Regions from separate parts of the Homo sapiens genome. Here region 2 is linked to region 1. The links are contacts of gene promoters, found by promoter capture Hi-C in human tissues and cell types (Jung and others, 2019). All regions are on one chromosome and are shown on one strand. Each heading gives the region's core, a stretch centred on a gene start or on the middle of the fragment in contact. The rest is flanking DNA. Distances are from core to core; before and after follow the strand shown. Region 1 holds the start of LGALS3BP (galectin 3 binding protein). Region 2 overlaps USP36 (ubiquitin specific peptidase 36).

The links. Contacts are between HindIII fragments. The study calls those that stand out against the background at their distance.
Region 2: a contact is called between a fragment that was not itself captured here and the fragment with the promoter of LGALS3BP in region 1, in 1 of the 25 tissues and cell types used here (spleen).

The regions. Positions count from the first base shown.
Region 1 is chr17:78,976,351-78,983,608 of GRCh38, forward strand. It overlaps LGALS3BP (galectin 3 binding protein), which reads right to left and starts at 3,573. Exons shown (of 6, transcript NM_005567.4): 1 at 3,474-3,573; 2 at 790-864. The coding sequence starts at 841. RefSeq lists enhancers at 1-509, 3,607-4,599. The HindIII fragment of the contact is 8,620 bases long and covers 1-7,258 here.
Region 2 is chr17:78,797,627-78,804,884 of GRCh38, forward strand. USP36 (ubiquitin specific peptidase 36) reads right to left here. Exons shown (of 21, transcript NM_001385174.1): 16 at 5,759-6,352; 17 at 4,698-4,909; 18 at 2,041-2,142; 19 at 1,282-1,397; 20 at 774-925; 21 at 1-253. The coding sequence ends at 794. Among named protein-coding and RNA genes, the nearest start is that of CYTH1, 19 kb to the left of the region's middle. The HindIII fragment of the contact is 3,600 bases long and covers 1-3,488 here.

The sequences.
Region 1 (7,258 bases), core at 2,323-4,822:
GGAGGCCAAACTCGCCTTTCCTTGTTTTAGGGGTCTCAGCCCTTCACTCCATAGACAGAACAGGGGCAGAGAAGCCCTGAGTTCTCCAGCACTGGGAGTGGAGGTGGCAAGACCCTGAGGGAAGGATAGGAGGGGAACGGAGGCCCCGTGCTGACCCGCCCTGCAGAGGGTGTCTGCAGTTTGGGGGTGCTGGCCTATGGGGGCAGCAGGCCTAGGGACCCCTGGGAGCACAGGCAGAATGTTTCCAGGGCAGATAATGGGATTCCCCCGCCCCACATGTCCTTCTGGGACTCAGTCCACCAACACTCCAGCCCCTACAGGAGCTGACAGAGCCGGGCAGGAGCTGGGTGCCTGAATCCAGTCGGGGGTACATCTGGCTTCCATGGGGCCCCCAGGATGAGCATGAGCTTCCAGGGGCTCACAGTGTAAAGAATGTGAGGAAAAGCAGCCAGGACCCTCTGGAAGACTGACCTGCGTCCAAGGCCACTGACCTCACAACGGCCCCTGTGACTGCTGGTTTGATCAGCCCCTCTGGTTCCCTCTGGACGGAATGGAGGATTCCCTAGTGTCCTCTCTATAACCTGCATCTCACCTGAACCCAGGTGAGCCCCCGGGAACCTCCAAGTCATCATCACTGGGGATACCTGGTGCTTCAAGCAGGAGAGAAGATCTGGCTAACCGCTGGGCCCCGGGCCCCAGGCAGAATATCTCCTTGAAGCTCTGAGCAGCCCCAGGGTGCACCAGCCTTCCACACTTCTGCTTTTGGTATTTCCCAGGGGCTCAGCTCACCTTGGGTTCCTGCAACCAGCAGCCACACCCAGAAGAGCCTCGGAGGGGTCATGGCCGTGCCTGGATGCCCAGATCCTGCAGCAGACAGAAGCGGAGGGGTGAGGCACGGGAGCCAGATGGCCCGAGGCCCCAGGGACTGGCCTGCCCATTCACCCTTCAGCCCAACCTGGGCTGTGTGGCAGGCGGGGTCCCTCTCTTGCAGAGCCCACTATGATCCCAGTAAGTGTGACGTGTGCTGTGGATGCCCCCGCGGGGGCCCCTCACCTGGTCTGCAGTGTGGTCCTGGAAGGATGTGTAACACTTGGCTAGATGAAGCGTGGGCTGGGGGCACCCCCTGGCAGTAAGGGCAGCAAGAATTGGTGACTAGAGGCAAGTGAGCTCATCTCAAAAAACCAGGCCCCGGGCAAGGCTGCCACACGGGCATGGGCGGGGAGATGGAGGAGGCCACAGGCGTGGGCCCAGGTCGGGAGGCCGGGTGAGCCTGGTTAAGATCTCGGCCTTAAGCTTCAGGCAACAGACCCCTGCAGGGACTGTCCCAGAGGGTCTCAGCAGGCAGAGACGAGGCTGCAGCCTGGAGAGTGGATGGGAGGGGACTCGTCAGGAGAGGGCACAGAATCCGGGCGAGGGGTGACAGAGATAAGTGGCAGGGAGATATATCGGGGCTCCGTGGTGTTCCGATGGGGAAGATAGATGAAAAGGGTCAGGGCTGCAGCCCAGGGTGGGCCAGGCTGGGGGAAGAACAGGGAGGAAATGCTGAAGTATCCCCAAGACACTGACACTCAGGCCAGGACTGGGGAGGTCCGGGTCTCCACCTTCTGGCCTGGTGTTCTTGCCTCCGTGTAATTTCCACGCTTTTGTCTTCGTCTGCCTCCCTCCCCCACACCCTGCCAATGGAGAGACAGTTATGGTTTCTCTGGCTCGGTAAGAATCCTGTGATACCTGACACTGTCCCCTCAGTTCAGCAAGCCTGGGGCAGGCCTCTGGGTGGCACTGCTGTGGGCACCGGCTGGGAGTCTGGGCCTGGTGACCTTGAGGCTGCTTGGAGGGGGCCTGGTGGACGGCTGCAATGGCATCCCCAGAGCTTGTCGGAAATGCAGTCATGGCTGGCCTTGCCCTAGCCCCTCTGCATGGGAGTCTGCATGAACAAGCGCCCTGGGAGCTGGGTGCACTGGCTGGTGAGCAGCTTTGCTCTGGGACTCGTGCTCGCTGGCACTGTGCAGCCACCCCTTGTCGGGGCTCCCCGGGCACCACTGGAGGCCTTACCGTGACCCTGAGAACCACCTTAGTTACACCTCACCTTACAAGTGAATGAGCTGACACCCAGAGAGGCAAATGGGCTCCACATCCACAGTCAGTGAGCCACAGGCAGGGGGTCTGCTCGGGGGAGCCCACCTCTCCTCCCTGTGTCAATGTCAGTAGATGGCTAAAGGGGCCAGGGTGTGACCGCCTGTCCTGTGTGCTGGGGACTGTGCTGGTTTTAGCACTGAAGTTTCCCTGTGTCCTGGGAAACCCCTCAGTCCCAGGCACGCCGGTATGGGTGGACGCCCTCTCCACTTCTGCCCCCAGCCACTTCACTCTGCTGCAGCCACTAGGTTTGTCCGTCCTGGGAGAGTAACTCAGGGCCTTGGAAAAATGGCCAACTGGCCAGGCGCGATGGCTCACGCCTGTAATCCCAGAACTTTGGGAGGCTGGGGCAGGTGGATCACTTGAGGTCAGGAGTTCAAGACCAGCCTGGCCAACATGGTGAAACCCCGGCTCTACTAAAAATACAAAATAATAATAATAATAAGCTGGGCATGGTGGTGTGCACCTGTAGTCCCAGCTACTCAGGAGGCTGAGGCAACAGAATTGCTTGAATCCGGCAGGCAGAGATTGTAGTGAGCCGCTGCACTCCAGCCTGGGTGACAGAGCAAGACTCTGTCTCAAAAAAAAAAGGGGGGGGGGCAACGAAGCACCTGGCAGGTGGCGTCGCTGCCCTTTGTGTGGCAGCGGCTATTTTTGCCTGATTCCTTCATACAGTTGAGACCCGGCTGCCTGTGTTGGCCCCTTCGTGCAAATCAGAAAAAAAGGTGCTCTTCCTTGGAGTGGGTGCAGGCCTAGGCCAAATGCACAGGTCTGAGAGAGGGCCAAGCTGAATTCTAACCCACTTGCCCTTTGGCTGGTATCCTTGTGCAGTGAGTAATCTGCCCAACTGTACACAGAGGCCCTGTGGGCCTGGGAGCAGCAATGATTGTTGCTGGACTCAGGAGCCCTGGATCCCCAGCTCCAGGCCTATGTGCAAACAGGGAGGCATGACCCCCACTTGCCTGTGTAGAGAGAGGGGTGCCCTGGCCGGGCGCGGTGGCTCACACCTGTAATCCCTACACTTTGGGAGGCCGAGGCGGGTGGATCACCAGAGGTCAGGAGTTTGAGACCAGCCTGGCCAAGATGGCGAAACCCTGTCTCTACTAAAAATACAAAAATTAGCTGGGCGTGGTGGCACGCGCCTGTAATCCCAGCTACTTGGGAGGCCGAGGCAGGAGAATCGTTTGAACCCAGGAGGCAGAGGCTGCAGTGAGCGGACATTGCATCACTGTACTCCAGCCTGGGTGACAGAGTGAGACCCTGTCTCAAAAAAAATAAAAATAAAAAAGAGAGAGAGACTGAGAGGGGTGCCCACCTGAGAGCTAGAGGCAGGAGCTTACCTGGCTGCGGTAGCTGCAACGGCCGTGTGGAGCCTCCTCGCTTCCAGCCACAGGATCCCTCTGCAGACTGGTCCTTTGACCCAGAAGCCTCTCCCAGTATGGAGCGTGGTCAGGCTGATCCCAGGAAATGCTTCAGAAAAGAGTCTACTTTCGATTTCCAGAAACCACCTGACATAGATGTCTTCCGGGATTGGCTGCTGCTGATACTCCCCAGGGCCCCTCTCTTTTGTCTCAGCTCTGCCTGTGGCTATCAGTGCCAGGCTGGCAGAGGCCCAAGGTGGGAGTCTGGCTGGAGCAAGGCCTGCAAGAGGACTAACAGCCACACTCAGTTGGAAAGGCCGCCAGGCTGGTCAGGGGCTGGCGTTTGGTGGACGGGAGGGGAAGAAGCAGAGGCTCTGGGCCCAGACAGTCTGCACCTGGTGGTGTGGCTGTGGACTCTGACAGAGCGCTCCGAGTCTTTTCCTGGGTCTAGCACGTTGCTGGCTGGGTGAACACCACACAGGGGGCTGCTTATGTGCAAATCCACCCTCTCTGTGCTCTTGGCATGCTGACCACACAGAGGGCCTGTGCCCCACAAGGTTGCATGGCACTGTCCCCTGTCCCCAGGGGAGGGAGGCACTGAGAACCAGGTATGCAGCTGGCCAGTGGAGGAGCTGGACCCTGCTCCAACACCTGACCCCAGAGCCTGTGCTCGCCACTGCTGGACCTGTGGCCACTCTCCTACTGTCTCCCCCTCAGCGGGGCGGGGGACAGAGCCTCTCTGGGTGACATAATGGCTCTGTCCAGCTCATACCCATTCCCTTTCCTCCCACTGAAAGCCGGCACCTCAACTGTCCCTTGGGGAGCACCCCCTCCCATTCCCGGCTGTGTGGTTCCCAGAGGGCCCCCAGCTCTTGGCCTTCAACCACCCAAGGCCTGGCTGTCTGAGCCCTGCGGGGGCCCCGGGCCACACTGCTGGTTTCAGGGTGGGGCTGTGAGCCCAGCCAGCCGGTGAGAGCCAGCTTCTGACTGAGAGGATGTGGGCCCAGGCTGCTGGGGCCGGTGGGGCAGAGCAGAGGGAAGCAGGCATCCTCCGGCCTGAGCTCCTGGGTCCAGCTGGCCTAATCCATGGTCAAGGCTGGGCTTCACCGCTCAGTGAGGCAATCAGCAGCCGCTCTTGTTTCTGTCACTTGCACCCCATGGTTCTGGATGAGCCTTGGGATGTGCCCAGGCCTCTGACCAGTGGTTCTCAGCCTGGGCTGGACAGAAGAATCATCAGGGAGTTTTACAAACTCCTAATGCCTAGACCCAGGAAGTCACCATCTCTGGGAGTAGGGGACAGGCAGGGGCATTTAAAAGCCCCCAGGCAGTCCCACTGGGTGGAAGGCCCTGGTTCCCTGGCAGCTTAGAGTCCGAGACAGCCAGCCCAGAGGTCAGACATTCAATGACTATTTCCTTCAAGGTGTGAGGTTTTAGGCAGCTGCACGGTTTGCCTAATCCCCTCCAGAGGAACTGTGAAGATCCAGGGGCAGGTGCAGCTGGAAATAGAACTGGCTGTGGGGAGTTTAAAAAAATCTCATCTGGATTAAGGGCCTGAGTGCACAGAAACCCCAGCATCATCCCTTCTCAGCAGTGCTAATGACTTCTGCCCAAGTGGCCAGGGAAGGACAGGAGTGCAGAGGACGGGAGGGCATCTCTGGGAAGTGCTGGGAAAGGTTTTAAAACTCAGGTGCCGAATCTTTAGCCCCAGAGTCCGGGAAAGTCCTAAGCCATCCAGGCAGGTAAAATGGAAAACCCAGAGGCCTCCTCGTGGAATCGGAGCACCAACATCTGCTCCCCTGGGGCTCGCAAGGCCTTTCCGGTGTGCGATGACCATGGGGTGGAGGGAAGCGCTGACAGGGGACAGGCAGGGGAAGGGGCAGCGGCTCGGCTCTGAGAAGACAGCTGGGTGAAAGCCTCAGATTCGTGTGGACAGAACTGCTGTCATCAGGAAGCCGCTCCCAAGACATGGTAGGGAAAGTGCGGGGCATTTCAGAGATGAGAATGGTTAACTGGCCTGTAAGGTCATCTTTTGTGCCTCTACCCCAAACCTCTCCGCAAATTGAGGAACGCTCCCTATAATAGCTAATATGGATTTCGCCAGGCATTACTATAAGCCTTGCCACAAATGAATGCATTTAATACTTCCAGCCATGATGGGAAGCAGCTGCTCTTATATTCCCTGTTACAGATGAGAAAACAGAGGCTCAGTGAGGCGACGTAATCGGCTAAAGTTGTGCAGCTGGTAGGGGAAGAACTGGGGTTTCAAACCCATCCTTTCCTTCTTTTTAAAAATTGGCTTTCTTGGCATATAATTTACGTGCAAAGTTTTGGCAAATGTGTAGCGATGGTATCATGACAACAATCATTACCTAGGGCGTTTCAATCACCCCTAAGAATTCTCTTATGCCCCTCTGCAGCCACCCCTCCCCCCAGCCCCTTCCCAGCAACCACCTCTCAGCTTCTGCCACTGCTGGTTGCCTTTCCTAGAATTCCCTCTATTTTGTCTTCTTTTTTAAGACACAGTCTCCCTCCATTGCCCAGGCTGGAGTGCAGTGGAACAATCTCGGCTCACTGCAATCTCTGCCTCTCAGGTCCAAGTGATTCTCCTGCCTCGGCCTCCCGAGTAGCTGGGATTACAGGTGCGCCCACCACCACGCCCAGCTAATTTTTGTATTTTTAGTAGAGAAGGGGTTTCTCCACATTGGCCAGGCTGGCCTCGAACCCCTGAACTCAGGTGATCCGCCTGCCTCTGCCTCCCAAAGTGCTGGGATTACAGGCATGAGGCACCACTCCTGGACCCTAGAATTCCCTCTAAATGGAATCATACAGTATTTAATATTTTGCATGTGGCTTCTTTTACTTACCACAGTGCTTCTGAGATCCATCCATGCTATCTCAACAATCAGTAACTGGCTCCTGGTTTTGCTGGGTGGCGGCCCACTGTATGGACAGAACACCACTGTTAATACATGTTTGCACTGATGGACATTTGGGTCATTCCATCTTCCACTATTATGCATAAAGCTGCTGGAAACATTTGGATACAAGTCTTTGTGTGAAAATAAGTATTTATTTTGTGTAAATACCTAGGAGCAGGATTACTGGGTCATATGGTAGATATATGTTTACCTTTTTAAGAAACTACCCAGCACTTCAGGAGGCTGAGGTGGGTAGATCACGAGGTCAGGAGTTCAAGACCAGCCTGGTCAAGATGGTGAAACCCCGTGTCTACAAAAAAATACAAAAATTAGCCAAACATGGTGGTAGGCGCCTGTAATCCCAGCTATTCGGGAGGCTGAGGCAGGAGAATCGCTTGAACCCAGGAGGCAGAGGTTGCAGTGAGCCGAGATCACACCACGGTACTCCAGCCTGGGCAACAGAGCGAGATGCCGTCTCAAAAAAAAAAAAAAGAAAAGAAACTGTTTTCCAAAGTTGCTGAAACATTTTGCATTCTTGCTAGTAATTTCTTCATGTTCCAGTGGTTTAAATCGTCACCAATACTTGGTATTGTCAGTCTTTAAATTTCATCCATTCTGGTGGGCATGTAGTGAAGTTTCATTGTGGTTATAATGACGAATGATAGGCCGGGTGCTGTGGCTCACGCCTGTAATCCCAGCACTTTGGGAAGCTGAGGTGGGCAGATCACCTGAGGTCAGGAGTTTGAGACTAGCCTGATCAACATGGAGAAACCCCATCTCAACTAAAAAATACAAAAAAATTAGCCGGGCGTGGTGGCGCATGCCTGTAATCCCAGCTACTTGGCA
Region 2 (7,258 bases), core at 439-2,938, 180 kb before region 1:
AGATGTCCAGCAGGTGTGCGGCCACCTCTGCTCACACACACACTGTCGTTTCTCTTGCAGGGCTGGTCGGGAATGTCACCAAAGAGGTTCCGATCTAGAGAAGCCTCAAAGCCTCTGTGTTGGGCGGTCTGTGGACACTGGTACCGGGAGAGCTCCTACCGTGACAGGCTCCCAGCGCAGCAGAGCCCACACAGAGAGCTCCCTCAGATCCAGACCGACAGCTCCCGGGAAGGGACGCCTTGTCTCCAGGAGGCTGCAGAACAAACCACGGTAGTCCTGACAGAGAGAAACGAGACCCGAATCTTCCCACTGCCACCCTCGGGTATGAGTCCAACCTAGGAACCCAATGCATGGCATCTCGATGCGGCTGGCAAGAAGTCACCCTTCTGCAAGTGACTGGGACACATGCCAGATATACACACAACCCACATCCCACACACACCCCACACATGCCCTTCTCCAAGTGACCAGAACACATGCCACAGATGCCAGGTGTACACACCCCACACCCAACACACACTACACACACCCCCTTATACACACGCATCCCACACACACCCCCTTATACACACGCATCCCACACACACCCTTCTCCAAGTGACTAGGACACACACCACAGACGCGCCCACACCACACACACCACCCAACACACATGTGCCAGATACACAGCCCACATACATCATACACACACGCCACACCCCACCACACCCCTACACACATACACGGCACACACACCCCCACCTCACCCTTACACCCACCCCCTCGGAACCGACCTCCTTCCACAGGGGCACAGTCAGCGGCGATAGCTGAGGCTGGCAGCCTTTGCTGGGTGAGTCACAGACCAGAAGTTCCGTCGAGTCTGAAGTTTCTGGAAGGCGTTGAAGTTTCTCCTCTTCTCTCTCTTAAATTTTTTAATTTTCTTTTCCTAGACCAAGAATCACAGGCATCACAGTTCCCAAAAACGGCTCTTTCCTGGCCCACGGGGCTCCATGCTGCATGCAGGTCCTGCACACAGGCCGGGCTCTCATGAGCTCTCTGGAGACCCACTCTTCACAATGACCCCTGTGCACGGCGACCTGCAGTCCCCCTATTGACAAAGGGGCGGAAGCTGCGAGGATGCATGCCCTGTCCATGGCCACACGCCCGGACAGGCCTGGGCAGCCTGGCTCTTCTCATGCTCGGCCGCTTCATGCCACTGCCGCCACCTCCAACTGCCCCGGCTCTGAGCTGAGCCACGCCGCCCTGCTCCCTCAAGCCTGTGGTCAGCATCACACATCATACCTTCCCTCGGTCAAACTCTTCGTCCCAGTCATCAACCACGGTCTCAGTCCGGGCCTGTCTGCTGTCTTCAATAGCATCCTGACTGACCGCCGACATCTTGCCATCCCAGGTCAGAACTACCAGGCAGACACGGGGGTCAGCACGAGTGCAGGTTCCCAGGTCCCCTGTGGCTTCACTTCAAGAGTGTCATTTACCAACTAGTCTACTCATAATTAGTCAACAATTTTGAGTGCCACCTTGTGGTGAAGAGAAGGACAAGAGGAGGACGGCTCGACGCCCATGTGTGGTCGGTCAGCATGGAACCCCCAGCGATGCCCTCTTAGCTAAACCCTAAACCACAGCCAAAGAGTTCAGTTCTTTCTAAACCCATGCCCTCGTCTGAGGAACAAAGATGTCATGTTTGGTCTCGAAGTCTGAATAAAAACATGCTCTGAGCAAGAAGTGACATTACCCAGGTTGGAAGAGCTTCGTCACTCTGCCCCTTCCCTACCCAAGACACAGCATGTGTGGGGCTCCTCACCCTGCCCCAACCCTCAGAAGCAGCTGTTCTGGATCCTGCCACGGACAGAAGCCACCTTCGTGCCACGGCTGAGGGTTTAAAGAGGACTCCAGCCAGTGTTGAGATTCCTCTTCCCATTCTCAAAGCCGAGCGATGCCCGCCCGCCACACTCACAGTGCACCAGGATCCATTCCACACCCTTCCCTCCTACAAAACCAACCAATGAAAGGCAAACAGAAGTCCTGTCTCCAAATCAGTACCTTTTCTCCCGTAAGCTTTATCAGATGAGTATTTGAGCAGTTCCTGGACCACATCAGACTCCCGCTCTCCATTCCAAGACACAGGAGGGGCCTGGCTCAGCCCTGCAATCGGAGCAGCCAAGAAACATTTACAGACGTTTAAAATAACCCACTGGGGAAGCAATCGCACACCTTAAATTATAAAACAACTTACAGTAAGTGGATGCTTGCCTTTTTTTTTTTTTTTTTTTTTTTTTTTTAAAGACAGGGTCTCACTATGTTTCCTAGGTTGGTCTCAAACTCCTTGGGACTCCCACTGGCCTCCCAAGGTGCTGGGATTACAGGCATGAGCCATGGCGCCCAGCCTAAATGCTTATTTACTAATGCTTACATGCTTAATTTACTAATGACCTGACACAATAGAGAAGGCTGTTGTCCAAGTCAATTCATGAGAAAGAAAACATGGAAAATAACAAAAAGCTAAAAACCAAAAAAAAAAAAACCCTCCAAAACCCCTTTAACCAGTAGTGTTAAGTCCTCAGTCTGACAGAAGGAGAGAAGAGAACTAGATCTAAATGGAATCCACCTCACCTACGGGAGAGGCCCATGCCCCAGGACCAGCCTGACACCTGGATGGCCACAGGGGTGGAGGGAACGGCCAAGCTTGGCTGCTGCCATCAGGGGCCCGACCTCCTAAGCCCTGTCCAGGGGGAACCTGGTCCCCATCAGCAACACCGCACAGGTCCACCCAGCACCTCGGGACCAGGACAGCACTCACCACCCTCATCGGGTTCTAGAAACCCTTTCTGAACTCGTCCTCTGCCCAGCTAGCCACATAGCCCCTGGAATATACTCACCTCCCTTCACACAAATCTGACCTCATTTCTCCCTGCCTCCAATTCCTCAGTGAGCTCCAGGCTAAGTGTCCCCTGCCCCCACACAGTGGCTTCCATGGTTCCCATCTCATCCACACAGCCCAGGGACCCGGCCATGCAGAGCAGCCTGCCTGCTCCCAACGTGCTGCGCCTCCTGCCCTTGGGTCTGGTGCCCTGCCCATTTAGCCACTCTCCTCAGGTGCACAGGACTGCAAGAGCCCATGCGGCCCCCAGCGCCTCCTTGCTGAGCATGAGCCCTTACTGTGTGGTTCTGGCTCTGCCAGGGAGCCCCGAGGGCCCAGGGCGCACTTCAGTAGACACAACCAGCACCTGGCATGGACCCTGGCGCACCGCAAGTGCTCAAGTGATGTCCCTTGCACTAACAAGCCAACTCCACTTCGCTCCGAGGGTGGCACGGAGCACAGCTCTGGTGCCATGTTAGGGCAGTATTTTTTTTTTTTTTTTTTTTTTTTTGAGACGGAGTCTCACTCTGTCACCCAGGCTGGAGTGCAGTGGCGCAATCTCGGCTCACTGCAAGCTCCGCCTCCTGGGTTCACACCATTCTCCTGCCTCAGCCTCCCGAGTAGCTGGGACTAGAGGCGCCCGCCACCATGCCTGGCTAACTTTTTGTATTTTTAGTAGAGACGGGGTTTCACCGTGTCAGCCAGGATGGTCTCGATCTCCTAACCTTGTGATCCGCCCGCCTCGGCCTCCCAAAGTGTTGGGATTACAGGCGTGAGCCACCACCCCCGGCCAGGGCAGTACTTCTGAGAGCATGCTGGCCAGCAAACTCAGTCGGCACTAGCTAGCACCCACGTTTTGCTATTTATTTCATACCATTTCATTTTTAACGATAAATTCCTTTCTTAAGAGTTGGATAAATACAAATCAGTCTCTAAGGTCCTGCTGACCCCCAGATGCACTGCCATAATCAGACCTTCCAGACTGCAGAGGAGGCCTCACTCAAGCTCGGCCCCCTATACCAAGCAGCCAGGACTTTCTCTCCCCTTCACTTAACAAATGTGTTCTGTGGCGGGTGCCTGCCAAGGCATGCCCCAGCCAGCCCTAAAGAAAACAAAACACCCTCCGATTGAGGGGTGGTGCCCAAGGACAGCCACAGCACACAGGTCCCCAACAGCAAGCAAACCGTGCTATGTTCTGAATGGCCCAGCTACATAGAGGGAGAGGAGGATTCACTTTTGAACCCAACTCTTCTAAATTCAACCATCACAGAAAAAAACTCAGGCTGGGAGTTCAGGGAGTCATTCCGTGAGAAGCTGTAGACAGAACAGCTTTGAATCGGAAGACCCACTGGCATTCACAGAATGTTTTAAAGTTCATGTGCACTGTAACCTCTCTCATGGGGCTGTTTCAGTCAAATGCTGTGACACATGAGGAAGCTTCAACCCCATCACCCAAGGGAGCAGACTCGGGGGTGGGGGGTGAAGGTTGGTAGGGTCCCAGGGCCCTCCACATCTTCTCCCAGACCCTCCCAAGCTCAGATGCAGTAGACGCTGCTCTCAGCCTGTGCACTCCCCAATACCCCCTCACCCGGTGCACACCCACGCGGTCCCCCACCCCCTTGCCCGGTGCACACCCACGCGGTCCCCCAACCCCTCGCCTGGTGCACACCCACGCGGTCCCCCACCCCCTCGCCCGGTGCACACCCACGCGGTCCAACCCCTCGCCCAGTGCACGCCCATGCGGTCCCCCAACCCCTCGCCCGGTGCACACCCATGCGGTCCCCCAACCCCTCGCCCGGTGCACACCCATGCGGTTCCCACCCCCTCGCCCGGTGCATACCCATGCGGTCCCCAGGACACCAGCCATTCGCGGATGGTGCGCAGCTGCTGGACTCGGGGACAACAGCATCTTGGGGCTTGGCACTCCTTGGGCATTTGAGATGCCCATCCTCTTCTACTGCCCGCTGTGTCTCCTGCTTTCTTTTTTTCTTTTTCTTTTTCCTTGGAGACTCTTCCATGGCCTCTGGATCACCATCACCCATGGGAGAGCAGCTGCTTGGAAGTGAGAGGCAGCAGTCAGCTCTGAGCAAATTGGAAGGGGAGCAGGAGCGCACAGACACCCGCCTGCAACATGGAGAAGGTGCCACCCCAGCTGTGACCCAGTGCACGCAGGTCCCTGCAACATTCTTCCCCCCACACGCATTAGCGGACGCTCCACACGCAGCCACGGAGACAGTAGAGGGAAAACCAGTCGCGTTTCCCATCCTAACTGAGCCAAGCCTGTTGACGCCAATGTGCAGGCTACTGTGACCTGATGAAACGGCAGATCCTGGCCTGGCCCGGGACACCTGATCCAGCATCCTTGAACGGCCCTGCACATACAATGATGGACACTACTGTCCACACCACTGTCGCTTCAAGGATCAATCCACTGGTATTTATCAGAGGAGATATTTTTTCTTTTTTCTTTTTTTTTAGACAGGGTTTAGCTGTCACCCAGGCTGTAGTGCAGTGACGCGATCTCAGCTCACTGCAACCTCCACCTCCTGGGCTCAAACCATCCTCCCACCTCAGCCTCCTGAGTAGCTGGGACTATAGGTGCATGCCACCATGCCCAACCAATTTTTGTTTTTGGTAGAGAAAGGGCTTTTCCATATTGCCTAGGCTGGTCTCAAACTCCTGGGTTGAAGTGATCCACCCGCCTCAGCCTCCCAAAGTGCTAGGATTACAGGTGTGAGCCACCACACCCAGCCAGAGGAGACATCTGATCACAAATCCACATTTTAGAAAACCACGCAAGCAGACTACGTTTCCAGACCATACCTACTTGGGGGTAGATTCTGTGGTTTTGCTTTGTTTCTCGTCAGAGGTAGACAGATGCCACTTTGCTCCTGCCCTTACCTGTGCCGAAGTGGGTCCTGGTGCAGGCCGCCTTCTTCACCAAGACCTTCTGCTCCTTTCCTCCTCCGCTTCCTGCTGCTCGCGTGGTGGCCGTCCGTAACACATCCCACCTGCTGGCCATTCACCTGTGGCTGTGTGCCATCTTCCTGCCGTCTGACAGCGGGCAGCTGTGCCTGGCCCTCCCTCCTGTACATGGGGCTCCCAGGCTGTCTCTGTGTCTGCCCCTCCTGCAGGGCGCTGGCAGCTGTGTCCTCCGGGCGCTTCTTCTTCTTCCTCTTCCTCTTCCCGTGGGGAGCCGCAGTGGCCTCCCTGATGTGCTGTGGGAGGCGCGTCTCTGAGCCCAGCCTCTGCGGCTCTCCCACAAAGGTCTTTTTCCTCTTCTCAGAGGGGCTCTGGGGGGGCTCACTGGCCTCTGGCAACTGGTGTGGAAGAGACACAAGGTCCTCGTTGACCTGAGGCAGCGCCGTCGAGATGGAGGAGCAGCTCCGTGGTTCTGACGTCCCTGGGGGCTTGGGGGTACTGGACAGCAATGTGGGGTGGGGGCTGAAGGGGGGTTGCAGGCGGCTGGATGATTGGGGAGCAGGTGACACAGCCCTGTGGGGACAGCCAGGAAACAGGGAGAGGATGTTCTGAAAGACCCAGCAGAGCTGTTCCTTCTGTCTACCCTCACTCCCCTCCCTTTCACCTAAAAATCTGAAAAGGCTTTTACCCTGTAGTTTTCAGATACACATTAAGTTACATGTATGTTTGAAAGAAAGCTAACAATTAATTCAACATCTATTTAAATGCAAAGTTGGCCAGGTACAGTGGCTCATGCCTATAATTCCAGCACTTTGGGAAGCCAAGGTGGCTGGATCACCTGAGGTCAGAAGTTTGAGACCAGCCTAGCCAACATGGTGAAACCCCATCTCTACTAAAAATACAAAATTAGCCGGGCGTGGTGGCACACGCCTGTAATCTCAGCTAGTCAGGAGACTGAGGCAGGAGAATCGCTTGAACCTGGGAGGTGGAGGTTGCAGTGAGCCGAATCGCGCCACTGCACTCCAGCCTGGGCGACAAAGCAAGACTCCGTCTCAAAAAAAAAAAAAACCAAAAAAACAAAAACAAAAACAAAAAAAAAAAAACAAAGTTACCTAGGTGGTGGGTTGATAGGTGCAGCAAACCACCATGGCACCTCTGTAACAAACCTTTACATCCTGCACATGTACCCTGGAACTTAAAATAACTGATCCCTGAGATTTAAAAAAAAAAAAAAAAAAAAAAAAAAAAGCAAGCCAACACGTGATTTTAAAAGTCAAAAAAAAAATTTTTTTTTTTTTAAAAGGCAAAGTTAATAAGAATTGTTCCATGCCTTAGTTTCTTGTCACCAAGCAATTCAAGTATTTTTGCGAGCTCTAATGTAAAAACATCTTTAATACAAATGTGTTAAGGGAGGAAACCTTCACGAAACAATAAATGGTAAGGAAAAAAAAGATCCCGTGAGGATTTATTTTCCAACCT